Regions from separate parts of the Homo sapiens genome. Here regions 2 and 3 are each linked to region 1. The links are contacts of gene promoters, found by promoter capture Hi-C in human tissues and cell types (Jung and others, 2019). All regions are on one chromosome and are shown on one strand. The core of a region is centred on a gene start or on the middle of the fragment in contact, and the rest is flanking DNA. Distances in the headings are between cores, read along the strand shown.

What was found. Contacts are between HindIII fragments. The study calls those that stand out against the background at their distance.
Region 2: a fragment that was not itself captured here is called in contact with the fragment with the promoter of TMEM33 in region 1 in 1 of the 25 tissues and cell types used here (lymphoblastoid cells).
Region 3: a contact is called between a fragment that was not itself captured here and the fragment with the promoter of TMEM33 in region 1, in 1 of the 25 tissues and cell types used here (dorsolateral prefrontal cortex).

The regions. Positions count from the first base shown.
Region 1 is chr4:41,933,522-41,937,737 of GRCh38, reverse strand. TMEM33 (transmembrane protein 33) reads right to left here and starts at 2,309. Exons shown (of 7, transcript NM_018126.3): 1 at 2,209-2,309. The coding sequence starts at 2,253. It overlaps LOC105374426 (a long non-coding RNA gene), which reads left to right and starts at 3,063. Exons shown (of 3, transcript NR_188374.1): 1 at 3,063-3,132. RefSeq lists enhancers at 1,920-1,989, 2,000-2,049, 2,290-2,469. The HindIII fragment of the contact is 16,795 bases long and covers 1-4,216 here.
Region 2 is chr4:42,514,389-42,518,501 of GRCh38, reverse strand. All of the region lies in intron 22 of ATP8A1 (ATPase phospholipid transporting 8A1), which reads left to right. Among named protein-coding and RNA genes, the nearest start is that of SHISA3, 120 kb to the right of the region's middle. The HindIII fragment of the contact is 5,832 bases long and covers 1-4,113 here.
Region 3 is chr4:42,667,758-42,672,261 of GRCh38, reverse strand. No RefSeq gene overlaps it. Among named protein-coding and RNA genes, the nearest start is that of ATP8A1-DT, 12 kb to the right of the region's middle. The HindIII fragment of the contact is 4,220 bases long and covers 1,057-4,504 here.

The DNA.
Region 1 (4,216 bases), core at 1,060-3,559:
TTTACATTTTTTGTCTAGGATCTTCGTAATTTTAACATTGAGATCCATATACATGGATATATAAACAAAAGTTTCACAAATATTTACCCTACTGTATATAATGGATTTTGACATTTTCTATTTAATTTTTTAAAAATAGCTGGTGTTTACACTAAACTGACTTCTCAACTCACTAATGGGTCTACCTGAAGTCTAAAAACACTGCTCTATGTAATTTAATTTCATTATCTTTTGAAAAAAAAATATAAAAAATTTGAGGGAAAAATCCAAGTACATTGTAAAATTCCAGGCTGTTTTATTTTATGTCTTTTTAACCCACATGTAGGTAATTTCAGAAATATGAAATACAACTTTGATTTATCATTAAATCCAGACTTACCGTACTGTGACTCCAATAAACTGAAATGATTAGCAGTAATCAAGTGAAGGATGAATCCAGCTTACTGTGCTCAGTTTCTCAACAAATATTATGACTGGGCACCACAGCTTGAAAGTTAGTTTTAGAACATTCTCCTTAAAATCTATTTGTTCAGGTTGTTTATTCTGCAATAAATCATTGAGCTATGCGTTTCATTTTGTACACACTTATGTATATTATACAATTTTAAAAGTTTAAGAAAGTCTATTGGTATACATTTTTTAAGAGTAAACTGTCCAACCATCAGGCAAAAAAAAAAAAAAATCACTAGATCTTTGGGTGAAAAATTGTTGAGGAGCAATATTCACACAGTGTCACAGTATCATGCCAAAGAACACTTTTTAATTAGAAAGGAAAAAAGGTATCTTTACAATGGAGAAACTGGTGGACACCACCTTAATCAAATAATCAAACAAATTCTGCAATGATGGGATAAATCAATGTAAAATGCTTCCTGATATATAATATAGATATACATATTAGATGTACCTATATATGCTGCAAAACATGTCTGGACTCTTGAAAACTATCAGTATCTTAAAAGACAAAAAAGGGGAGGAGAGGGCAGAACTGTTCTAGATTAAAAGGCAGTAAACAAGATATGGCCAGTAAATTGAATGCATGCTTTCTGAGATAGGGTCTCGCTCTGTCACCCCAGGCTGGAGCGCAAAAGCACAACCCACCTCAGCCTCCTGAGTAGCTGGGACTATGCTGGGACTATAGGAGCGCACCTCCACGACCGGCTAATTTATGTTTGTTTGTTTGTTTGTTTGTTTTGAGAGAAGGTTTTGCTCTATCACCCAGGCTGGAGTGCAGTGGCGCGATCTTGGCTCACGGCAGCTTCAACTTCTCGGGCGCAAGCGATCCACCCGCCTTGGCCTCCCAAAGTGCTGAGATTACAGGCGTGAGCCACCACGCCCCGCCTAATTTCTTTGATTTCTAGTAGAGATGAGGTCTCGCTATGTTTCCAAGGCTGGTCTCTAACTCCTGAACTCAAGCGATCCTCCCGCCTTGGACTCCCAAAGTTCTGGGCTTACAGGAGTGAGCCACTGCGCCAGCCCATCGATGCATGCTTTTTGACAGAATCCCAGATGAAGAGAAAGCAGCTTTAAAGGACAATTATGGAAATTTGCACATGGATTTTATATTAGGTAATATTTCCCAAATGTGGTAACTGCATTGTGGTCACACAGAATAATACTTAACTACTTATGGATTAAAAAGTAGAGGACAGCAATGCTCCGGGCACAAATAACTTGTTAGCTCCAGATCAGCATCTTAAAAAAATTACAAAAGCATAATGATATTTCTCTTCATAAAGAACAAAGTGAAGAAGAAAAAGACCACCGCTCTCCTCCCTTTGCATAATTTCTATATACGATTGTATAAACTAGGCAGAAACGTTCTTTGCCGGCACTCGTGTGCTCCACGTGGTGTGTGTCATGGATCATGTGTGTCATGGCACAATCTCATGCGGCATCTTTAACCTTGGGGCCTACGGTAAACAAAAGACCGAGGTGGGAGAAGAGGAAAGAAGGCCCAATTTCCATGGCATACAGGTGGGGGCCACCAGCTCCAGGTCAGCCTATTGTCGCTTCAGAAACAAACTTGTAGTTCCCTCCATATCTTCGCTCAGGACCTCCCCTCTCCCCGCTCCAACTTCCCCACCCCAACTCATTAATCCCATTCCTGAATGCACTGAGCTTCTGGAACGCCTCGGGACTCGCAACGCTTCCTGCTTCTTCCTAACTCTTGCAAATCAAGCCAGACTACCCTGCCCTCGCACTTACCACAGCGCCCGCCCCTTGGGGGCCGTTCGGGGTCGTATCTGCCATGGGGGCTCACACTAGCGTCTGCGACGCCGCAACCGCGAAGAGAGAAGAAAGGGGAGAGAAAACGTCAGCGCTGGGGCCAGGACCCGGGTACCGGCTTCCCTGCCTCGCGCCACACACAGGCCGGATGCACCCTGCCGGAACTCTGAGCCTCCACCAGGGAAGGGTCTCGCTCGCCTGGTGCAGCCGACTGGATCCAGGGCACCCGCAGCAGCCGGGAGGTACCTGTCCCGCACCGCCGAGATCAAAGCGGTGTTTCCAGAAAGACGGGAGCGAAGGTGGAGCTTCGGGGTGAAGCCCTAAAGAGCCAACCTACGCCGCCGGCTCCAGGTTATTGCCGAACCCGGAAGTGCTCCTTTCATTTCCGTGGGGAAGAGGCGGTGACAAAGAGGGGGAAACGGGAGCGGTGCCCAGAGGCATGACGGGAAGTGTGGTTTTTTTCTCCTAATTTGAGCCCCACCTGTCCTTCCGCCGATTGGCCCAGTGAGCTAAGAAATCAGGATGGGGGAGCAACTTTTGCATTAAATACAGCTCACAAATGATCTTTCCTGCCCATTCTCAAACCATGAAATTTCCGCACTTCCTGATATAGAGGCCTCAGAAACATCTTTGATTCCTTTCTCCAGGGGCTTACTAAGCCCGTTGGTTCTACGTCTATTATTAATTCTTTCAATAAGTATTTATGAGGCCTGCTATGTGACAGGCTCCATACTTGGCACGGCGGATAAAAAGAGGAATATGACACAGATTGCAAAAGAGAAACAAGTAAACGGAAATCAGAGCATAGTGATTGTGTAATATGTGTAGAGGCTGATTTAATCACAGGGAGCACAGAGGACGGTACCTAAATCAGAAGGGATCTGGGGAGGTTTCCTGGAAAAGGTAAGTCCGGGCCTTGATCTTGAACGACAAAAAGTTGGCTGAAAGTGTTACTGGTGTAGGGTGTCCAAGTTCTTGGCGTTTTGAACATAGAATTGGACAAAACGCACAAAGCAAGGAAAGAATAAAGCAACAAAAGCAGAGATTTGTTGAAAATGAAAGTACACTCCAGAGTGTGGGAGAGTGAGACAGCAGCTCAAGGGCCCTGGATACAGAGTCTTCTCGGGTCCAAATACCCCCTAGAGGTTTCCCATTGGCCACTTGGAGTTCACTTCATGTAAATGAAGTGGTGGCCCGCAATCAGTCTGAATGGTTGCGCAAAGCAACCAATCAGAGGCTGAAGAAGTTACAAAGTTACACTTCTATGCAAACGTCTGATTGGTTACAAAAAGCAACCAATCAGAGGTACTTTCAATTTCCCAAATCTGCGCAGAACAGGTTGGGGCTTGCAAAGGGAGTAGTATCTGGCCCTTTATTCACTTAAGCGTGGACAGTAAGGATTTTCCTTCAATTTAGTTCTAGGAAGTCAGCGAGAAAGGGCATTAGGTTCCCTACCGCCATACCATATTCTTCTGCCTTAAAACGGGAAGGGAACTCCATACAGAGTAACAGAAAGTGCAAGAAGTAACAGGACAGCGAGAGGACTAGTTGAGTGTGACCAGAATGATGGTACCAGTCAGGGGATTGTGAAAGATTTGCGCTAGAGAGGCAGGCAGGGGTGTACTGAGGAAAGGATCTGAACTTGACCCTGAAATCCAGAGAACCATGGAACAATTTTAATCAGAAGTGTGACATCCTGAGATTTAGAAAGTTCTCTCTGGCAACAGGGTGGAGGATGAACAGAGGGGCAAATTAAAAGTCAGGAAATTCGTTGTGAAGCCATTTATATATATATAAACTAAAAATAAAATCCTAAGTAAGGGGTCTGTCGACTGACTGGATAGATCCCTTTCTTGGCCAAGGGGACCCCAGCCATGATGGGACAGGAGATCAGACATGCCTCATTATACCCCCTCCCTTTTGTAGTTTAGACACAACTGACTAGCAACTACTTAGGCGTGGAAAGTTAGGGTTTTCCTTTCAAATT
Region 2 (4,113 bases), core at 1,543-4,042, 580 kb before region 1:
CCCCTCAGCCTCCACCTTGCCCTCGTGGGTGCTCCAGGCAGGGCTTGTTGTGACTCTGAGGATCCACTAAGCACAGTTTGAAAACCATGTATTACATTTGTATGTGGACTTTTAGAAAACAAATTCCTCAAAAGATCAGTACATCATTGTGCCCGTATGCAAGATGTTTCTGAACATATTTGAATTGATATGTCATTGCCACATTAATGGTAGTATTATATTCACAACATTCAAAATGTAAAAGATTTGTAAAGTTTTTCCTAAAATAATAATTTAGTACAAAATAAGAGGAAATGTTATAATAGGATTAAGGTTATACTTTTAAATGCTGCTCTCTGCCTCTTGTTCCTCCAATGTTTGTTCAAACTGGTAATTCAGTTTTTAAAACTAAGTTGAATCCTTATTCCTTTGGGTAGTGTAACTCCTAGCATAAGCTGAAAAAAATATCCAAATAGACCAAAAATATACAACAAGGCATTTATCCTTTGGTTGTGATGCTTAGTTACTCAGGTATGTTACTACCCAGCACACTGAGCACTAGAATGTGCTGCCTTCACTCTTGGGGAACACTATGGGAAGGAGGATATGGAAAGTGAAAAAGCCCACCGGCTATTGTTATCCCTATTGACAGTCATCTCGAGATGAGAGGATTTAGGACTTTTAAATCTATCTATAAAATATAATTATCAGCTCTGTTCCAAAACTGTACTGTTTGAGCTCCAATACTTGCATTCATATGGTAAGCTTTTCAGGACATTTCTAAAAATTTTAACACTGAGAGTTGTTTCACGAATCAGTTGCCGACACATCTATTTTGTTTATTTTTTCTTTTGCTGTTACTAAATAAATCAAGAGGTGACATTGATTAGTAGGAAGGCCTAACTTGTTCAGGAATAAGAAAGCTCACATGGTTAGAATGCAGATGGGATTATCATATGGGATATTTCAGTTGTCTTGACTCACTTTGCGAAGAATTGCAGGTTCACATTGGGCATTGTGGACAGTAACACCTCTTAGTCTCTTTTTGTCACCACTTGAGAGAATTTACAGTGGTCTCATTCTTTAGACAACAAACTTGACCTGTTTTATCTCACCCTCGTTCTTTTGAAAGGTAGTCAACATATTAGGACTCATAATTTTAGATTGGGAAACCACTTATAGTGTCAGCCTATATTTTTTAAATCAGAATTTGTTTTTTTTTTTTTTTTTTGAGACGGAGTCTCACTCTGTTGCCAGGCTAAAGTGCAGTGTCGGCTCAGTGCAACCTCCGCCTCCTGGGTTCAAGCGATTCTCCTCCCTCAGCCTCCTGAATAGCTGGGACTACAGGCGCCCGCCACCACACCCAGCCAAATTTTTGTATTTTTAGTAGAGACGGGGTTTCACCATGTTGGCCAGGATGGTCTCGATCTCCTGACCTCGTGATCCACCCCCCCTTGGCCTCCCAAAGTGCTGGGATTACAGGCCTGAGCCACCGTGCCTGGCCTAAATCAGGTTTTTAAATTAAAATTTTGTATTTCCTCAAGAAGAATTGTAAATAACAGAATAATTATGAAGTTCCTTGTTTCATTGGCAGGGGTTTCTCTGAAATTTCTCACCTTTGATCTGTCACTTTAATATATCAGGAGCCAGGGTGATATCACTTCTTTTTGGTCTGAGCTTCTATTCTTTGTTAAAATTTGTTTACTTTTATTCTAACTTATTTCTAAGACACATAAATTATGTTTTGTCTCATATTCATACTATGCTACTAGATTCCTTTGAAAATTAATAGTATAGAAGTCTCTGGTCTTTCTTCCTTATTTTATAATTAAACCATTGTTTGAAATATGAAGGCGTGCCTTCGTGGAATACATAATTTTTTGAAAATGTTTAATATTTATTTGCTTCAATAGAAAAATACAATTATGTCTTTAGTACTGCATAGATTACCTACTAATAATTTCTGTGTTTCTGAAAGTAAATCATTTATCTTGAGAATTACAGAAAACAGCGTAAGCTATAATACCTGCCTAGATTCATCACTGATTAAAGCAGTATTTCCCTGGTGATAAGATTTTTATTTTTCTCTTATTATGATGCGTGGATTGGGAAACTTTTTTTTTTAATGGAAACTTATCCAATGCTTTTATCTGTTCAAGTTTTTCTAAAATAGGTTATGGGTTAGAGGATCATTTCTGAGCTTAAGAGTAAACTCAGAACACTGTAACTCTGCTGTCAAGCCTTTTTTGATCAGATAGCAATGTTGTGTTTTATGTGCATTTTGTAGTTTGTGATTGATGTATGTCATCCACTAGATTGAAGTTTCACGAAAGCAGGGACTGTGTTTATCATATTTATCACTGTGTCTCCAGCGCTTGACTGACTAGCCTATGTTAACCACTCAATAAATATTTGATGAATAAATGAATTATTCATTTAAATAATTAATTCAGAAGTTGGAGCTTAATAAGTACTTGCTTAATGAAAGCCTGCCCCCTATTAACAAATCTAGTTCATGCTTTCCATGCATTGAAGGCACTGGTATCAAATGTGCTATCACTAAGGATTAATTTAGGGGTATGTTAGAAAAGAAGCCAATAATTTTACAGAAGGCATTCTTTAGAAGTTTAGATTCGTTCATTTATAAAACCTGTCTTCAAAGTTACTTGATATATAAATGTGAGAAAATCATGGGTTGGAAAGATTCAGCAACAAATATCTGAGCACCGCTGCGTGGCAGGTTCTGTTCTAGGCTCTAGGGCTCAGCAGGGAGAGGATAGAAGAATTTCTGCCTTTTGTTTCAGTGGTGGGAGATAGGTAGTGAACTTGTAAACTAAAACAATGTCATTCCAGAGAGGCTTTAGTGCCCTGGGCACTGAGATAAGGCACTAAGATAGGACAGTGAGGTAGTGATCCTTTTTTACATTATTTCCTTTACCCCTCCCCAAAACGTGGTTGACATTTGGGGGATGGTTAAAGAGTCCCTTGATGTGGCGTAATATAGATCAACCATTACACTCAGTGTGACTAAACAACAATTTAGTGCCCTTTGCAACATATGGCAACAAATGGTTTAGAGGATTCCTAGAGAAATATAAAACTTAATGGAAAACAGGACTTTTCTTGAGCATTCATGACTGCCAAGTTCACAGTAACTTCTGTATTAGAATGGAATGCTTCTTCAGATAAAACTACCACATCTATTCTTAGTAGCTGCACATATCACTTTCATTTGTGCTAAAAATGAAATGAAAATTTACATGATGTATGGGTGATTTCGTGGTTTAAAATTCCAGTAGTTTCCTGTTCTATTTGCTTAAGAACATTTATAGTTAGCTCATTTAATTAGACCTGCCACTTTCTGAGCATTTACTAAGCTCCGCAATTTTCACTCTTTACCCTGATTATTTAGTTGGAGGGCCTCTAAAGTGAGACACAACGTGATCCATTGGGGTAAGCAAGAAAATATTAGAACTTCTATTTGTTTTATTTCATCTTTTTTAGTTTTTGCATTTTATAATGTGAATAATTTATTAATTTTAACAATGTTTTACAAAAATATAACTGTGTCATAAGTACGTATTCAACATTTTTTCCTAGTATACTCAAAAATGTTTGTGAGATAACTGGTGTAATTTCATCTGCAGAACATCCTTATTAAATCTACGTTATTAGGTTTATCTTGCTGTTGTGAAAGTTGATTCTTAGGTAAGTTAAGTTACTTGCTCAGGGACCCATATCCAGTGGTTGGCAGAGCAGGGATGCAAATCCCTGTTCTGTCTTAATTCCAGATCCCATGCTAATAATCTGTAAGTTACGTTGCCAACTTGCTTTTGAAGAAAGCAAGAATGTGTATAAAATATTGGAGACTTGAAAAATAAAATGAAATCAATTGTGCAGTTGCATAATCACTAGATCACTCAGGGTGAGAAGTGGGGCTCATCAGCCTGTTTGAGACTCAGCTACTTAGTGAGGCAGCCTCTATGTACTCTATGTACTGTATTCCATTTTCCTTGAAAACAAGATGGAAATATGTTTTTCATGATTTTCCCTCAACTGGCCGTTAGAATCTTCTTATTTAAAGTACTTAAGATTTCCTTAGATCTCTAATCACATGCTCCTCCTTTCTGGTAG
Region 3 (4,504 bases), core at 1,917-4,416, 730 kb before region 1:
GAACAAATTGCCTCAATGTCTTTTGTAACAAAGGTATGAGGTAAACTATGCCTTTGTATAGTTTACAAACTTTTTGTAAGTGTCATGAATTTAAAGGGAATATCTTCTTATTTTCCATCTTATAGAATTTCTTTTGGTAACCCCCAAAACTCTCAGTGAAGTACATTTCATGTAGTTTTTATGGCTGTGTTCTAGGTTGAAGAGATGAGGGAGCAATGGGAGCTGTGGCTTCCTCCCTCTGCCATCAACACTCTGCTAGTATGGGCAGTTGCCAGTGCAGACAGGGTTGCAGGCTTGGGCCAACAAAGATGTAAGGGTAGGTACCTGCAGCAGCACTGAGAATAACCAAGTAGACAAGTAAGACACCTTTAGGGGAAAGAAAAATTAAAAAGTAAAAGAAACAACAACAAAATTTTCGTTCCAAATACACAGAGTGAAATTACAATGTAAGACTGATTAACAATGTAAAACTAATCTCCCTACCAGATAACACTAATTACCAAAGGATAAATAGTAACCTTACAGTCGACAAACCTGTCAGTCCCATCTTAACCCAAGTGGTCAAAGTTAACATCAACAGGAAAGGGGTATTCACATCCTGTGCCTGTAGGATGCACTGACAGCAACGCAACATGACTTCCTGCCAAAGCCACGAGGTGACATCAGACAACCCCATACTGAGGGGTAGTGTACAAAACAAATGGCCTGTACTATTCAAAAAAGTCAATATCATGAAATTCAAAGGAAGACTGTTCCAAGTGAAAGAGATTAAAAGGACATGACAACTGAATGCAACACATGATCTAGAGAACATTATTGGAACAAAAGATAAAATCTGAAGAAGGTCTGTAAATGAGATAATAGTATTGTTTTAATATTAAATTCCTGATTTTAATCAGTGTGTTGTGGTTATGTAAGAGAATGTGCTTGCCTTAGGAAAACACACTTTGAAGTATTTAGGAGTAACAGGATTCATGCCAGCAACTTTCTCCCAAACAGTTCCGAAAAAACAATAGAGAGAAAGAAAGAGAGAAGAATAAAGCAAATACCGTATAGTAAAAATGTTCTTTGTTGGATCCTAGCAACTTTTCTGTAATCTGAAATTATGTCAAAATTCTAAAATTGAAATGCAAAACTTTAGGGTAAATATGATGTCACCACAAAAAATAGTTCACCCTGTTCACAGAGACTCTCCTTGAGGGCACATGCCAGTCTCTAGACTTGCTTCCCTGTCCTACTGTTCAATCATCTTTTCCCCACAAATGTTCTCACAGCTTCTCACTGCCAACCCCTTTCCCACTCCAGAAAACCCTTACCATCTTGAGACCAGTGCAATACACTGAACTCAATAAGCTAGTGCTCAGAGACTGGGTAATTATGACTAGAATGAAATAAACAGAGGGAGGGGGCTAGAGTGGATGAGGGTGGCATATTAAGAACCTGCCTGAGATGAGGTCCTTCCATTGGTGTGACATGTCTCACCATCCTTCCTGCTCAGTTAGAAAATAATTATTGTATCATTCTGGCATATCTCTTTTCTTGACACACACATGCAAAAGAACAAGGAATGATTTTTCAGAAACTACCAAATAGGTTCGTACTGAAGAGGAGATTGTTCTATAAAAATTGAATGATCTTCACACACTCCCTTTTCCAGCCAGGAGACAGCACTTTTTGTTACGAATGTTCATTCCAACTACTACTCTCATATTCATCCTCTAGTTTCCAAACACAGGGAGAGGCTTATTGGTGGGTAAGACAAATCTATCTCTTCAGGAAACAGAGCTGTCTGTCCTTGCTTAGCAAATTCTGGCCACCAAAAGACCCAAGGAAGCTCTGAAATTACAGATTTTCTATACCTTAGTCTAGATAAATATTTTAGGTTGGGTGTTCCCACAGGAATGCAGCAGGAGAGGACATCACCCTCCATCCATAATAACTGCTGGGGATGTTGGGAGTGGGCAGATATGGAGTGAGGATTTGGAGCTGCCAAGCTCCACCTTTCCTCTGGGTCTTTGTTCAACGTGGTCTCCTCTTCCTGGAATCCATCCCCAACCTTAGTGTTTACTGTCTATTCTCCCTTCCTAATACCTTTCCATTTTGCACTTTGTTTCCACCCAGTTGCTGTCACCCTCATTCAGGCTGTAAGCTTAGCCCTTAACCTGAAAGGTACCAGTTAGAGGAAGCACTGGGAGGTAAACAAAATCCAAATCAATGTCATTAAAAGAACTATACCTGCCAGTCCTAATAAGAAAAAATATGAAAATAGTTTAGAGTGGGGTGACACAGTAATAAACTAGTTGAAATCAACCAAATGGACCAAATGTGGTAGAGAAAAGTATTAGGTAATGGATGACTTGAATCTGGAGGACTCAGGCACATTGACAGCCAAAAATGTCATAAAATTTTCAAGGATATCTGTAATGCTAGAGCTCAAATGTCTCAGATGACATCTCTGGTTAACATTCAACCTCAGCCAGCTAAAAGTATAACCTCCGAAAGTGCTTAGCATGCTAACCCTGAAATTGTTTGGATAGCATAATTGTTTCCAAGAGAATCAATAGCTGTGAACCTGTAGAATTACATATACATATATAGGATTAAGTAAATCAAACTTATAGTACTAATATTTTTAGTAAGGTTTAGAAATAGTCACTATATTTAGGAGAATTTGACCTGTTACTAAAATTATCTGTGTAATTCCAAATTAAAGTGATGAGACTAATTGACAAAGATTCTATGTCAAAATTAATCAGTATTAGAGAGTTTATAAAAGCCTAAGACATATCTTCTATAATTTAAATTTATCGTATTATGATAGTTATTTCAGTACTGAGAAGGCTTTTTCAGATGACTAAAGCACTTAAATATGAAAAGGAAATGTATCAACTTTGTCAGTATAGTTTAAAATGTTTAAGGGGGTTTAAGTTTATAAATGGAATCAAACATTAATTAAACACCGCTTCAAAAGTAATTTTCAAAATTTGTGAGATGTCTAAGTACAATAAAATAATTAAGTTAAATCTACTTAGATGTCTAAGTATACTAAAATAATTAAGTTAAATTTCAAAGCTTAAAGAAGAGCTATGTTTGTTACATACAAATTTAATAAATTGAATATTAAATTTTTAAAATGAAGTTTGCTTTGGATAATCCTTTTGGGACCCCAAAACTACACATAAGTACAGAAAACTTCCATTGACAAGATGGCCACAGGCGCATCCTAACCGGGCTCTCCTTCTGCGCTTTCCCTCACGGTGTAGTTTGAGCATAGCTAAGAGATGATGTTCCCAAAATACCATTATGGAACTTGTCTCTTCAAAAATCAATAATTTTTTTACTTTTCCCTTTTTTTTGTATAAACAAAGGAAAAACTAAAAGAAATCTTTTCGTTTTACTTCATCCATTGCTTTGTTAGTATCTTATTCACCTCCAAGATTCCATTTATTTTTATCCAGAAAGTCACCTTAATAAGTTACTACCTCACAAAATTAATTTCAGCCTCTATTCTCTATTGTACTCCGTTTAATACTATTTCGGTTCACATTTAACAAGTTCTTTGCTAAGTGTCAGCAGTTTAAAACCCTGTTTCATGTAACCTGTTTCTAGGATGATGCAAACTCTGGTTTTTTTTTACATTTAAAAACACAATTTGGACAAAATGTATTATTTCGTCCATGGAAAGCTCCAGAATTTTCATAATGCAACCTTGAGAAAGATTTCTGAGATTTACTGAAAAGTTTGGCAGAGAATGCTGGCTGCCTACCTGCTAATCCATTCTCTCCTTCCCTTAAGTATCAGAATCCCAAATTTTTATCTAGGTACATTACTGGTTGAATAAATAACTAATTTCCCATCCTCCCTATCTGCTACACATGGCCAGGTGATGAGCCAATAAGAGCTGAACATAACTTTTATCTGAGGCTTCAGAAGTAGATGCTGAAAGAATCTGACTCAGTGTGCTAGGACTATGAGGTGACCTTGAGGATGGAAGCTATGTGTTAGCATTGCAGAGTACAAATAGAAGTCTCCGGATCTCTGAAGGCAGTGTAGAGATATCTTCAGACTTTTTTTATATGAGAGACAAATGAACCTCTACCTTGTTTAAATTACTGCTACTTTGGGATTTTCCATTATGTGCAATTGAACCTTTGGGATTTTCCATTATGTGCAGTTGAATATTTGGGGATACAATCAATATATACATTTGTAGACTACCTTTCCAACAGTACAATATACAGTGGTGATTTTATATTTATTCATTTACATAATGACCCAAAGAGGCACATTGTTTTAAATATTACTAATGAGCATTTTTACAGCAAGTTTCTTGAAACCAGTAAATAGAATCCTCCATCACAATTAAATATCTAACATTGATGCCTTTTGTCATACAAATGATAGATTACATAAACTTGCATTATTAGACTTTACCAAGAAAGGCATGACTGAAGAAAATGCCTCTAGTAACTATAATCGTTAATTTTATGTCACTTACAGAGTA